Regions from separate parts of the Homo sapiens genome. Here region 2 is linked to region 1. The links are contacts of gene promoters, found by promoter capture Hi-C in human tissues and cell types (Jung and others, 2019). All regions are on one chromosome and are shown on one strand. The core of a region is centred on a gene start or on the middle of the fragment in contact, and the rest is flanking DNA. Distances in the headings are between cores, read along the strand shown.

What was found. The method cuts DNA at HindIII sites, captures the fragments that hold promoters and counts their contacts. A contact is called where the count stands out against the background at its distance.
Region 2: a fragment that was not itself captured here is called in contact with the fragment with the promoter of NINJ2 in region 1 in 1 of the 25 tissues and cell types used here (dorsolateral prefrontal cortex).

What each region holds. Positions count from the first base shown.
Region 1 is chr12:659,113-666,358 of GRCh38, forward strand. NINJ2 (ninjurin 2) reads right to left here and starts at 4,333. Exons shown (of 4, transcript NM_016533.6): 1 at 4,216-4,333. The coding sequence starts at 4,248. The HindIII fragment of the contact is 21,671 bases long and covers 1-6,224 here.
Region 2 is chr12:870,896-878,141 of GRCh38, forward strand. It overlaps WNK1 (WNK lysine deficient protein kinase 1), which reads left to right. Exons shown (of 28, transcript NM_018979.4): 9 at 370-453. Among named protein-coding and RNA genes, the nearest start is that of RAD52, 75 kb to the right of the region's middle. The HindIII fragment of the contact is 5,080 bases long and covers 1,322-6,401 here.

The sequences.
Region 1 (7,246 bases), core at 3,083-5,582:
ACAAACAAACAAAAACACTCCCAGAGTACTTTGCCTATAGACCTTCTTCTATTCATAAGTGTTTTTACCTCCACTCCCATCTCATTCTATCTGTATCTCGCTCTACTTAACCTGAGCTATACTGAATTTGCATTCGGTTTGGACAAGTCTTAGTTCCTCTTTTGGCAGATCATCTTCACATTTCCATCAACATGCAGCACAGGTGGAAAAAAAGGGGCCAATAACTGGATCTGCCTGGGGAATCTGGAAGCCCAAGAGGAGCTGCATTTTGGGAAGGAGCCAGGCTAGGGGCTTAAACTCTGTACTTGGGGGTAGGGTTGCAACACTGGCTCGAAGGGGAAGAAAGGGATTATCCTCAACCTTTCACACATCCAGACTCTGGGAGATGCGCAGGCTTAGCTCCCTGGCAGGGCTACCAGTGAAGGCAGGGAGAAGGGCAGAGGCTTGGAGGCCACAGCCACAGGCCATAGAACAGAAGGAGCAGCTCCAGGCATCCAGCTGGTGGAGGCCACCTGCCCTGAGTGCTGTGCGCCACTCTTCACAGCCAGCTGTGCTGCTGCTACCCATCCCAGTCTCACAGGTCTTGACCTGGAGATACATTTGCAACATTGATTATAGAGGCTCAAGTTAATGTTATTTTAGATTAGAGTTTCCCAAACTTCAGTTGTGCCATGTTCAGGGTTTCAACGTCTCAGTGCAGTAGTAGGTGCGGGCACACACACCTGTGATCCATGTCACCCAGGGCTGCCGTACTTCTGAACAGGTCAGACAGAAACAGTTACTAAGACATTGAGGGTATGCCCAGGTCATGTGCAAGGACTGTATAAAGGTGTCAAAAAACTTCCTGCCACTTACTTGAGGCTCATCCTAAGCAATAAAAATGTTGGAATTGCCTGGACATGTGGCTCATGCCTGTAATCCCAACACTTTGGGAGGCCAAGACAGGAAGATCACTTGAGACCAGCAGTTAGAGACCAGCCTGGGCAATACAGTGAGACCCCAATCACTAAAAAAAGAAAAAAAAAATTAGCTGGGCATGGTAGTGCACATGTGTGGTCCCAGCTATTTAGGAGGCTGAGGCAGGAGGATAACTTGGGCCCAGGAGGTTAAGGCTGCAGTGAGCCAAGATTGCACCACTGCACTCCTGCCTGTGTGACACAGCAAGATCCTGTCTGTTAAAAAAAAAAAAAAAAAAAAAAGGAATCACAGGTCTGATAAGTTGTTATGCTTTCTTTCTTTTTTCTTTTCTTTTTTTTTTTTTTGAGACAGAGTCTCAAAAGTGCAGTGGCACGATCTCCGCTCACCACAACCTCTGCCTCCCAGGTTCAAGCAACTCTCCTGCCTCAGCCTCCTGAGTAGCTGGGACTACAGGCGTACACCACCACGCCTAGCTAATTTTTGTATTTTTAGTAGAGACAGGGTTTCACTATGTTGGCCAGGATGGTCTGCAACCCCTGACCTCGTGATCCGCCCACCTCAGACTCCCAAAGTGCTGGGGTTACAGGCGTGAGCCACCTAGCCCGGCCCTGTTATGCTCTTTCTAATGAATACTGAAACTATAAAGATGGCCAGCTATGGTGGCTCACACCTGTAATCCCAGCACTTTGGGAGGCCGAGGCTTGTGGATCATTTGAGGTCAGGAGTGCAAGACTAGCCTGGCCAATATGATGAAACCCTGTCTCTACTAAAAATATGAAAATTAGCCAAGTGTGGTGGTACATGCCTATAATCCCAGCTACTTGGGAAGCTGAGGCAGGAGAATCACTTGAACCCAGGAGGCGGAGGTTGCAGTGAGCTGAGATTTTGCCACTACACTCCACCCTAGGCGACAGAGTGAGACTCCATCTCAAAAAAAACTGTAAAAATAAACATTATAATAAAAAGCTGTCAGCCATTGATGTACCTTTACCACCCATTGGTGATAATTGTACCACATTTTGGGGAAACATTGTTTTAACTAAAGAGTGTTATTGTTTTGTTTTTAGAGATAGGGTCTGGCTCTGCCGCCCAGGCTGGAGTGCAATGGCATGATTGTAGCTCACTGCAACCTTGAACTCCTGGCTTCAAACAATCCTCCCACCTCAGCCTCCCGAGTAGTGGGGACTACAGGTGCATGCCACCATGCCTAGCTAATTACTTTTAAATTTTTAATAGAGATAGGGTCTTGCTATGTTGCCCAGGCTGATCTCTAGCTCTTGAGCTCAAGTGATCCTCCTGCCTCAGCCTCCAAAATGCTAGGATTACAGGCGTAGGCCACCGTGCCCAGCCAAAGGTGGACAATAAATTGTAGAAAATAATGGATAACCTTCTGAGCAAAGGAAAATGTAAGATACAAGAATTAAATAGCATATTAGAAGAGAGTGAATGACAAATGAAGAGAAAGGTACACTAACACCTCAGTTACCTGCTAGAGAGAGACATTCATCCAGCCTAGCCAGTCATTTCCTTCTCCTTCCTCCCACCACCTCTTTCCTTCTGAACCTCTGGTTCAGATGCAGAGTCCTTAGCCTGTAACTCTGGATCGTTCAACCCATCAGCACATAAGAAACTTGCTCTTCTGAGAATGAAAATAAGCAGCAACACAATTTCCTTAACAACCAAGGATCTTATAGAGGCAAGAACTAGAAGTAAGAAGAAAACACATACTAGGGACAGAAGACATGGACTGGAGGTCTTGGGCCAATTAGGTGACCTTATTCCTATCTCAGAGCCTCTCCAACTCATGGCTTCCTCAACTCATTCATTTAACAAATGTTTTCTAAAGCAATGACCGTGTACCAAGAGTTGCCTCATGCACTCGGGCTGCAGCAGTGAATAAAACAGGAGAGGCCCTGCCCTCAGAGATCTTGTGTCCTAGTGAGAGTGACAGGCAATACATACTAAATAAATAAGCAGTGTAACTTTAGGTGGTGAGCAGTGCTATGAAAGAAATTAAACAAATGATAAAGACAAATTGGGGAGGAGGCATCCTGTGAAGAGGTTGGTCAGGGGAGGGCTCCTGGGGGAAGTAACATTTGAGCTGAGACCTGAATGTACTAGGAAGGGCCAGCCAGGAGATAAGCCAGGGAAAGAAGGTTCCAGACAGAGGGACAAGCAAGCCTTGCGGTGGGACCGCTCTCGGGGCTGGCTGCCAATCCAGGAAAACAGCACTGGGTATGCAGTTGTACTAGGTGAATGGTTTTGACACAGCACACCAAGCAGTCCTACAGTTCCCTGGTGGTGTCTCAAGGGCGGAGGGGCCAAGGACAGAGACTCTGCCAGACTCACGCCACCCTGCCCAAAACACACACAGAGAACGAGAGAGAGAGAGAGAGAGAGAGACGCGTGCACATACTCTGCTTCAACAAAACAGCTCTTCTTTAATCCGAAGTGTATATTGGGTGGCTGCTTAAGATTTTGTTCGAGGACCAGGTTCAGGGATCAGAAATTCTTGATCTCAAAAGTCCTTTTCCACACTTTGTTTGATTCTCTGCAATGTTACACAGCCTCAGCAGTGGTCATAGAAGGGTTCGTTCTATTCTATCCATTGGCAAGGAGTCACAGAGTGCAGCTCCCAGCAATCTGGCTCTCCTCTCACCGTAACATCCCACCCTTTCCCCTCCAGCAGTGGACTGGAACCTCTGATGCCTTCCAAGCCCATCCCAGCTACAGAGGGACACACATCTCTGCCTCTTCCTAGGAGATTAGACTGATTTCCTTTCCTTGCACTGTCCAAATGAGACGCTTTCTGTCCTACACAGTAGAGCTTTGTGAAGACAGCCGAGAAACGGCTCAAGTTTTTTCCAACCTGTAAAATGCAAAGTTGGCCAGCTGCCTCTCTTCCTAGCCTCAAAACTCATATATTTCCTGTCTCCCCGGCAGCTCTAAGAGAAGTCTCTACTGTCCTGGGGTTTGGGGAAAGCACTGCTCAGAATGTGAAATCATTTTCTGGTAATACGGATCTAATTAGCTCTTTGACTGACAAGAGGAAGCAGAGGCCAAAAGGGAGTTAACCAATCTGTTTTTCAGATATTTCAAAACAAGTGAAGAACCAGATAGGGAAACAGAGAGAAAGAGAAAATAAAGAGACAAAGCCTAGGGAGCATTTGGAGAAGGGAGTGAGTAAGAAGAGAACGGGGAGGGAGAATATCAAGTGACTAAAGTATCAATCCTCTGTTCTTCCAGCTTCACCTCTACTCCCGGTCTCCCCTCTGCTCTCTTCCAGAGAGAACTTACTTGAAGGTCGATGTTTTCTCTTGCTGATTCCATCTCGCTGCCCTCAAGTCCCTTCACACGCACCGGGTGCCGGGAACAGACTGCGTGGGCTCCTCCAGGCTCCGCCGTCTGAGTCTCTGCTGCTTTCTTCGGGTGGGAGAGAGCACACAGCTGGCGGGACAGACCTGCCATTCATCCCTCTGATGTGGGATGCCCGTCTTGGCTGCAGCCTCTGGGGGAGGTGTGCACCTGCACACACGTGTGAGTGTATGTGTGTGCACATGTGTGTGCTCCAGGAGGTGGCACATGGCACACTGATAGGTGACCTTTTGAGTTGGTAGTGACAGCATCATTTTCACCAGTGGCTCCAGTGACCTTCCAGTCCCAGCGGAGCCATCTGAGGTCACCCAGCCTGCTTTGAGCTAGTAGCTTTATGACTGGCAAAGAAATCCTGCATGTTTATCAAGCAAATTGAAAAACAGCCTGAGGACAACGCTATCTGACTTCACCGCTGGGTCCAGTCCCCAGTCGCCACGGGTGGAGTGACCTCCAGCACAGTCTCAATACTGAGGCAGAGGGATTTCCGTTGTTCTTTGCTTTGTTCCCTATATCCCTAAAAGTTTTTAAAAAAATTGTAGTTTACCTAATAGGCTCCAAAGCATAGGCTTTGTTCTGCAAAGTGAGTGAACAATACGTTTTTACTGACGGATTGTTTGATTCCTTCAACTCCTCCCTTGATTAGCCATAGAGGGAGCAGGGAGTAGTTGTACCTTCGAAGCTTGTTTATGCAAACAGTGGTATTCTCCCTACTTTTAAAATAAAATTACCAGGAGGGAGTCTTTTTTTAGAAAGTTTTTTTTTTCCTCTCCTGTTTACCTTAGAGCCCAAAACTCTTCTGGCTTGTTCCTGAAGCAAGGTTTAGACACAAGCTTGTGCAGGTGTGGGTGTGGGTATGTCTGTAGACGTGCATGGCAGGGTGTTAACCTGTAATCCAATTCAGGGCTTGAAGAGGTGCGGGCAGGAGGAAGACAGGCAGAGTCAACACGTTTACCCTCACCACATTCAAATGTAAAAAAAAAAAAAGGCGATTTCTTCAGTTCTATGAAATGCCTTTATAAGTTCCCATCCCTCTGGACAGTGGTGCGAGGGAGGGTTGGATGATTGGATGGGGGCCATATTTTAGTCTAATCTATGAAGCATAGTTGGATTTAATCATTTAAATGGTAAACAGTCCACTTTAGACACAATGCTCAGTCTTTCGGATTTGCAGAAGATGGCACCTAGGTGCACAGGAGGGCGGGGTGGGGACGGTTCTTGCATCTATCCTGTGGCCTCTCCATCTCGGCTCCTTTCTGTTCTGGAGCTGCTGGGCCCACGGGCCCGCCCGAATTGCTGACTGCTGAGGAGACACAGGTCCTGCTCCTGGGTCTTCTGCTGGCCTTGGTGGCTGATGTCTGATATTAGGCCAGAGTCACTCATGGGTGATTCTCTTTCTGCCTTTGAGATCCAGTGTTCTCCCTTGCTGTCTGCGCTACCTTGGCTCGTGGCAATGTGGACCATCCTGAGACCTGGCTTTGACTTGTATGTGCCCCCATCCCACTGTATCCGCTCAGTGGCCCACATCTCTAAGATAAGCCCCTCGAAATTTTCCTGTGAGATGCTTGACCAGTGCTCCTGAGCCCCCTTAGGCACATGGGGACTGAGGGCTGCTGACGAAGGGCAGGGGAAAGGCAAGCTCAGCCCCACTTCCAGCAGAGTTTGCTCTGATGTGGCTGCTCCAACTGACACAGGGCAGTCTGCGAGGTGATCTCCTTCCACATTCCTGAATGGAAATGAGACCTGGAACCCACTCTTCTCAGCACTCCTTAAAAAGTCTACCAGTAATATCTATCACCCCACCGCTCATAATAATACCACTATGTATCAAGCACTATTCTAAGCACTTTTTTTTTTTTGAGATGGAGTCTCGCTCTGTTGCACAAGCTGGAGTGCAGTGGCGCCATCTCGGCTCACTGCAACTTCTGCCTCCTGGGTTCAAACGATTCTCCTGCCTCAGCCTCCCGAGTAGCTGAGATTACTTCTTCCCATAGTCCCCTTAATCTAGAATCAGAAAATGTACGCTTTGTCTTCTTTTTTTTTTTTTTTTTCCTGTTTGGCTGGGATGTATCTGATGTAGAACTCTATGACAACAATTCAAAGGGAAATGAAGAAATTTAGAAAATCCTCTCTCTCAAGAAAACCTGGTTGTCAAAAATATTGTCTTGGCTGGGCAGCATGGCTCATACCTGTGATCCCAGCACTTCGGGAGGCCAAAGCCGGAGGATCTCTTGAGCCCAGGAGTTCAAGACCAGCTTGAGCAACATAGTGAGATCCCATCTGTAGAAGAACTTTTTGGCTGGACATGGTGGCTCACACCTGTAATCCCAGCATTGTGGGAAGTAGAGGCAGGAGGTCACTTGAGCCCAGGGGTTCAAGACCAGCCTGGGAAACACAGTGAGATCCTGTCTCTACAAAAAAAAAATTTTTTTTTAATTTAGCTAGATGTGGCAGCTTGCAGCACCTGTAGTCCCAGGTACTTGGGAGGCTGAGGTGGGAGGATTGCTTGAGCCTGGGAGCTGAAGGCTGCAGTGAGCTATGATCATGACACTGTACTCCAGCCTGAGTTGACAAAGCAAGACCATGTCTTAAAAAAAAAAAAAAACTTTCTGGAAAACCTTATTTCGGATGCCAGAAGCAAAATATTAACTATTTATTTCTCTTTGCACTCCTGTTGTGAAAATCCTCATTATCTTTTAAATAATATGGATACATCTGGCTGAATAGAGGGAAACAGGAACAAAAAAATGCAAAAGAGAAAAGTACTCGAATATATTTCAAAAAATTTCCTATTAATAAGCACATTGGTTTGAAAAGGAAACAGCTGTAATTGGTTATAATAATGGTTTTGGTTTGGCAAGATCTTTCTGGATTTGGACCTTTCCCCATCTCATAAGCATCATTTGGAAGTAAACAGAAAAAAGGCTTTGGAAAATGGTTTATCTACCATATCACG
Region 2 (7,246 bases), core at 2,612-5,111, 210 kb after region 1:
TTCAGATAAATTTCAGATTGATAGTATTAATACTTTGTTCCTGATTATTGTATTTCTAATAACAAATTTTATTATGAATCTGACGATTCTAGCCAGCTAAAATTACAGCCTGAGCAGCATTGACAGCTTAGGTTTTCACTGTCAGTGGGTTTTGCATGGGTTGGGATCAGAACATGTTGTGTGGTATGATCCTTTTCTAAATTTTTCTTACAAAAGTTGACCCAGAGGCCTCTCCCATACATAATCAGGTTAATGTTTCATTTTGATCAAGCAAACTCTGAGGAGATTAAATATTCATTGCAAAAGCCTGACCTCTATACACTTACTTTAGGCCTTCTCTAATTTGTTGTGTTCACTTCTTTCCTTCAGGCACAGGGGCAGAGCCAGGGTCAGCCATCCTCAAGTAGCTTAACAGGGGTTTCATCTTCCCAACCCATACAACATCCTCAGCAGGTGAGAACAATGCATTGCAACATTTTATGAATTAGCAGTGGCCAGAACACTATTTTAACTTTTGTGATTTGTTATATAAATGGCCTGCTAAGTTTTTGAAAGGAAAATTAAGAGGCATACCATGTCTTGTGTTCAGTAACAAAGAAAAAAAAGAGACTTTTCTGTGTTTCAGAAAAATCTCTTTTGTTTAATATACTTTTGAACAATTTAGTAGACATACATTATTACTGATATAATTATCTTTTTAAAAGAGGATTCTACACCTTTTTTTTGAGACAAAGTCTCACTCTGTCACCCAGGCTGGAGTGCAGTGGTGCAATCTTAGCTCACTGCAACCACCGCCTCCCAGGTTCAAGCAGTCCTCCTGCCTCAGCTTTCCACGTAGCTGGGACTACAGGTGCCTGCCACCACACTCAGCTAATTTTTGTATTTTTAGTAGAGACGGGGTTTCACCATGCTGGCCAGGCTGGTCTCAAACTCCTGACCTCAGGTAATCCACCCTCCTCGGCTTCCCAAAGTGCTGGGATTACAGGCATGCGCCACCTCACCCAGCCTGGATTCTACACATAATTTACGGTACAAAGAGTATGTCATTCCTTTTCTCTTTTTTTCCACTGCTTGCAGCAGTGATTTGTCATTACCTTCATTGTGCTTGCCTCTACTAATCCTGCACTTCTTTTTAATTATTTCTAATCTGTAGAATGATGTGTCAGATTTTACGCTAAGAAGCATCTAATGAAAACCTAAGAACAATTACTTCAAGAACATTTATTTATTTATTTATTTTTATTTATTTTGAGACAGCCTTGCTCTGTTGCCCAGGCTGGAGTGCAGTGGTGCAATCTTGGCTCACTGCAACTTCCATCTCCCAGGTTCAAGCTATTCTCACGCCTCAGCCGCCCGAGTAGCTGGGACTACAGGCGCGTGCCACTATGCCCAGCTAATTTTTGTATTACGTTCTACTTATGCCTGGCTAATTTAGTAGAGATGGCGTTTCACCATGTTGGCCAGGCTGGTCTTGAACTCCTGACCTCAAGTGATCCACCCGCTTTGGCCTCCCAAAGTGCTGGGAGCCACTGTGCCCAGCCAAAATATTTTAACTTTTGTTTTGGGGGGCTTGTTCCAGAAAGTTCAAGGAATTCAAGAGATTAGTGTCATCCTGATACATCCAACAGTAAAACTGGTAATTCTAAAATTAAATATTTATAGTGCATCACTGATATTAGTTAATAGTAATTATTTGCAAGGGAATAATGCATTTTTGGCATAATTGAATACTTATTAGCTATTCTACATAAAATTTGTAGCCACTATGTATGTAATGCAAACTTCCTAATGTTAGTTCCCCATGTGGGTTTTTTAATCAGCAAACTCTAAACTGGCTTCTGTTTCTATTAGTTTTTGGTTTTGAAACAAAGTTTTCGGTTCTTAATTACAAATGGCCCTTTTTCAGTCCAACATATGGTCATGTAGTCATTCGATACTGGTTTAAGATCAGGAGTTGCTTGTACAAGATGAAAATCACTTAAAGGCACTTTCTACAGAAACAGTTGATTAGTTTGTTTATACATGCATTCACTCCGTGAACTGAAGGACTGGGACTTATATGCTTTGTTTTGCACCTGTCCTTTCTTCCAAACAAGACTGGTTAAATTCAAGTAAACATATTTTTGCCAACCTTAACAAAATCTGTTTTATTCTATTAACAGTTCCTAATTAGAATGCAAATTACAAGTCACATAAAGCTGGTTGAGAATGGAAGTACTGAGTACTAATCTCCTAACTTGCTTATCTTTGGATGTAGACGAACACCAATGAACTGAGCAAATTGTATGTGCTCTGTTTTTTCTTTTCCAAAGGAATTGGTTATCTGTCTTGTATTTGGGGATATGTATGTATACTTACTATCAAATGAAGAAGATAATAAAATAATTCATTGAGTTTCATGTTAAGAAAGAGTGTGAGAAAAGAAGAGAGCAGTACCATAAATGTCAGATTAAAAGAATTAGGTAGCTACCTCTCCAGGAGAAAAAAATATGGCTAAATGCTATCTCTACAGCAGAAACAAAAATTAATTTTTGTTTCAGTGATGTTTTTGTTTTAGATACTTTTATAGCATGTGTTGTAGAATCACAAAATTGAGCCCTCGATATATATAGGAAGTGTATTCGGTCTAGAATAATTAACTTCTCCAAAGTCACTTAGATAATAAGGGAGCTACAAATTATAACCCAGAATTCAAGATTCCTAGAATAGTATTGTTTCTTCCATTTTAAATAAAGTTCTGCAGGGACTTAATGATTCTGCAAATGTACCTCAGAAGCTGTCTTTATTTGTTTTAATTATTGGAGTTCCACGTTTGAAAAAAGAAAGGTTGAAAACTTTTTGTACTATATGGATAGTCTATTTTTAGACATGATTTTTGTTTTACGTACTTTCAGGTCCCAATCCCACCTTAGAGAACCATATCTCTTGTTTTATTTTAGTGAGGAAAGAAATATACTTTTGCTAAAATTTACTTTATTTCATGCGTTTCTTGAACATAGTAAATGAGGAATTGCTTTTTTGTGTGTTTTTGTAGGGTCTCGTATAGTGATATACTAGATCTTAGCAAGGTACCAAAAATAGCTGCCTCCTGCTGAAAAGCTTTGTGACCACAAACAAAGTTGTGAACTTTGTCAGACACAGTGCCAGCTACTTGGAAGGCTGAGGCAGGAAGATCACTTGAGCCCAGGAGTTCAAGGCTACAGTGAACTATGATATTGCCACCATACTCCAGCCTGGGCAACAGAGCATGACTCATCTCAAAAAAAAAAAAGCACCGAAGTTGTGAACTACCTACCCTACTATCCATAAAGTCTGTTTGAACTGGTTTCATGAGGCAAGCTTGGGCAGAGCATGATGCTAAACTGTTAAGCTAGACCACCCCTGCCTGGCTGAAGTGCTGATTATTAGTCAGTGGGACTGCGCACAGCAGATCATCATGTACTTCTGGCATATCCAGAGGTGACACTTCTCCCCAGATGCTCTAAGATGTAACATTAACCGTTAGCCATTGTAAACAACTGGTTTAGAGATCTCTTTAAGATGTTAATACAAGGGTCACTGTCATAGATGCCTCTCAGTTGTCTTAAGCAAAGAAATAATTTGTCCATAAAACTGCTCATTTTTGACAGTCCTTTCAGCTTTTTTTCCTAATTGAGTTCAGATACTGAAGGTCTACCGAGCTGGACCAGGTATGACTACTTTGAAAGAGTCTAAATAATATAGTAAATATATATGTAAATTTCTAAAAAACAAATAAGGATAATAGCTAATATTAAAGTGCTTTGTACATTGTACCTACATTCTCATTTAATCGTTTTAAGAACCCTATAAGTATAGATGCTATAATTATTTCCATTTTACTGATGGGAAAGCTGAGATCTGGAGAAGGTGAGTAGTTTACCCAAACTTACAGCTTATAAGAGGTAAAAACAGAATTTAAATCCAAATAATCTAATTCCACAGCTCACCATTTGACTACTACCCAATTATGTCCAAAAAAAGGGAAGAAATTAACATCTCTCCCAAGCAGGAAAGGGAATATCAGGAAGACTTTAGGAAAAAGGAGGCATTTGAAATGGACTTTGATTATAAGTTAGACTCAGATGTAGAAATAAAGAATATTCCAGGCCAGAAGATAAAAAAATTATACTGTGAGCAATGTGAAAGGCCCTAAGATAGAAAAATAGGGTACAAAAACAAATGTGCCTTTAGTTTGGTTTAACTAGAGCATAGATATGTGAAGGTATAAGTTCAGGAAAGAGTTGATAGAGTCTAAATTTTGATATGAGCATAATTTTGAATTAAGGAGGATGTATTGGGGGCTGGGAGCATATGATTACCATATGCCCAAAGATAACATGGGAATTCTTCCTCAAATTTATCCGTTAGAAAAGAGGGGAATAACCATGTATTCAGACCTTTATCGTACTCTCATATTACAGGGTTTTCACTGTCCTTTACTTTGAACAACAACAAACCAAAAAAGGTTAATGAAATAAAATGAAACAGGTGAGAACAAATGTGCCTGCAAAGACTTCAGCTCATGTAGTTAGAAATGTTCATTGAGAACATCAGACAGAATATTTTTAAGGAATAAACATAAATTTAGTCCTTATTCTCAGCAATATGACTTCACTATTCTGAGGACTGTATGTGATTTTAAACAACTGGCTTAAAGATCTCTTTAAGATGTCAATATAAGGGTTACATGAATAAAAACCTATAAGAGAAAGGAAAAAAAAATCTAGTTTTATTTTAATGTTATGTAAATAGGTGCTTTTCACTGCACATTTTACCTGAAGATACAACTTAGATGGAATGTGTTATGTTATGCCAGAAAACTGCAGGAGCGTTCATAATTTAGCTTCAGTGAAGGTAAAGATGCTGGTGTCTTTACCTATGTAGAGTTTGGGGGAGAGGGAGCAGTATTTCTGAATTAATATATTTAATATGCAATCTTATTTACGTGTGTAAATTAATGAGTTAGATAATTATAGATATCTCATTCACATTCCTTAAAGTTTAAATTTGTTCAAGTTGGCAAATAAAAAAGGTTTTCTGGTTTTTTAGTTCCTTTTTCTCAGGTGGGAAATTAACAAATTTGTCTTATATTCAGAGCACCTTTAGAATTGGCTACATGTGGTTTATCTTAGTTTGCAGAAAATAAATTTCATGTAATTCAGCAGCCATTTCTGCTTCTTTAAAAGTTAAAATAAGAATACATTATCAGAGGCCGGGGCGCGGTGGCTCACGCCTGTAATCCTAGCACTTTGGGAGGCCGAGGTGCACGGATCACAAGGTCAGGAGATCAAGACCATCCTGGCTAACATGGTGAAAACCCGTCTCTACTAAAAACACAAAAAATTAGCCGGGCGTGGTGGCAGGCGCCTGTAGTCCCAGCTGCTCAGGAGGCTGAGGCAGGAGAATGGCATGAACCTGGGAGGCGGAACTTGCAGTGAGCCAAGATCGCGCCACTGCACTCCAGCCTGGGCAACGGAGCGAGACTCCGTGTCAAAAAAAAAGAATACATTATCAGAAATAATTAAATAGGAATAAACCAAACATGACTGCTGTTGCCATTATATTTTAGCATTCTTTTGGTGATTTTAATTGACATAAATATAAGAAGAGCAAAAATATTATTTGTAGATTATCACCTAACAAAATCTAAGACACTTATCAAGGTGGCAAGATACATAATAAATGTACAAATAAATAGCTTATCTTTATACCAGCAGTAACCAATTAGTCGTATGGGTATACCAGCACATACGTAAAAGGCTGTTGGTTGCAGCATTATTTTAAGTAGCAAAAATGAAACAACCAAAGTGTTTATCATTAGGAGACTGATGCCATTTAGAAATTAAAGTAGTATGCTATAGAACACTATGTATAGGAAAGGCATGTTTTTGTTTTGTTTATTTTAACAAAAAAAGAAAACTATGTGAAAATGGCCACTTACGCATAGAAAAAAATCCATGAAGGTTATGCACCAAACGACTAATAGTGGTTACCTCTGGAGAATAGGATTAGGGGTATTTTCATTAACTTTATAATATGATGTACTAGTTAAAATTTTTATTACAAGCAGATGTTGTATTAAAGAAAAAATATAAATTAGGTATTAGAAGATCTTGAAAGTCAGCCCTAAACTTCATTTTTTTTTTTTTTTTTTTTTTTTTTTGGAGACAGAGTTTCGATCTTGTTGCCCATGCTGGAGTGCAATGGTGCAATCTCGGCTCACTGCAACCTCCGCCTCCCAGGTTCAAGCAATTTTCCTGCCTCAGCCTCCTGAGTAGCTGGGATTATAGATATGTGCCACCACGCCCGGCTAATTTTTTGCAATTTTAGTAGCGATGGGGTTTCTCCATGTTGGTCAGGCTGGTCTTGAACTCTGGACCGCAGGTGATCTGCCCACCTCAGCCTCCCAAAGTGCTGGGATTACAGGCGTGAGCCACCGCGCCCAGCCTCAAGTTTTTATTTGTTAGACAGAAGGGGCAGTACTCTAGGGGTCATAGTCCTGTTTTGTTTGGTTTTGTTTGCTTGATTTATTACAGAATTTAGTATTCGAGTACAGTTATGTTCCATGCATTAAATTAGGTGTATAATTACGCACCATGCATTAAATTATACTTGAGTCCCTAGTACATAGTAGATTCCCAGGTGTCATTCCCTTTGCCCCACTTTGAGTTAAAAAATAATGTCCTTGTTTCAAAAAGAGAAACTTCATTTTTTTAATAAAATAAGCAATCTAAGGCATTAACAGCTAGTAAATATTAAAGCTAAAATTTGAAAATGTCTGTTATTCCAAATCCAGTGCTTTCCTCCCTATTTTGTAGCTATAATCAAAGCTATTCTTCAAGCATATTAATTATACAGTTGATAAAATAGGGTAAGGAAAAAAGATTAAAGGAAGCTATTGGATCTATCTGATATAGGTGCCAAAGAGAGAGCTGATGCCAAGAGATAGGGAAAAGGGAATGGCAGGGATGGGATGGGGAAAGGAACTGTCTGGATATGTTATGTAAATGTCTTTGTAAAGACCTATTGTTGGGGTGAGGGAGATAATTGGGTGAAGAGCCAATGGTAACTTGAGTATTAAAAGATTGGTTAATTTTTCCTGGTGGCACCATCACAAAGAACATCAGAGGGAAAACAAATATATAATGGAAATTGATGAATTTGGGTTTGTGCATGTCTTGATTACTAAAATCATCATTATTTACAGACACTGAAGGCTTTAGGT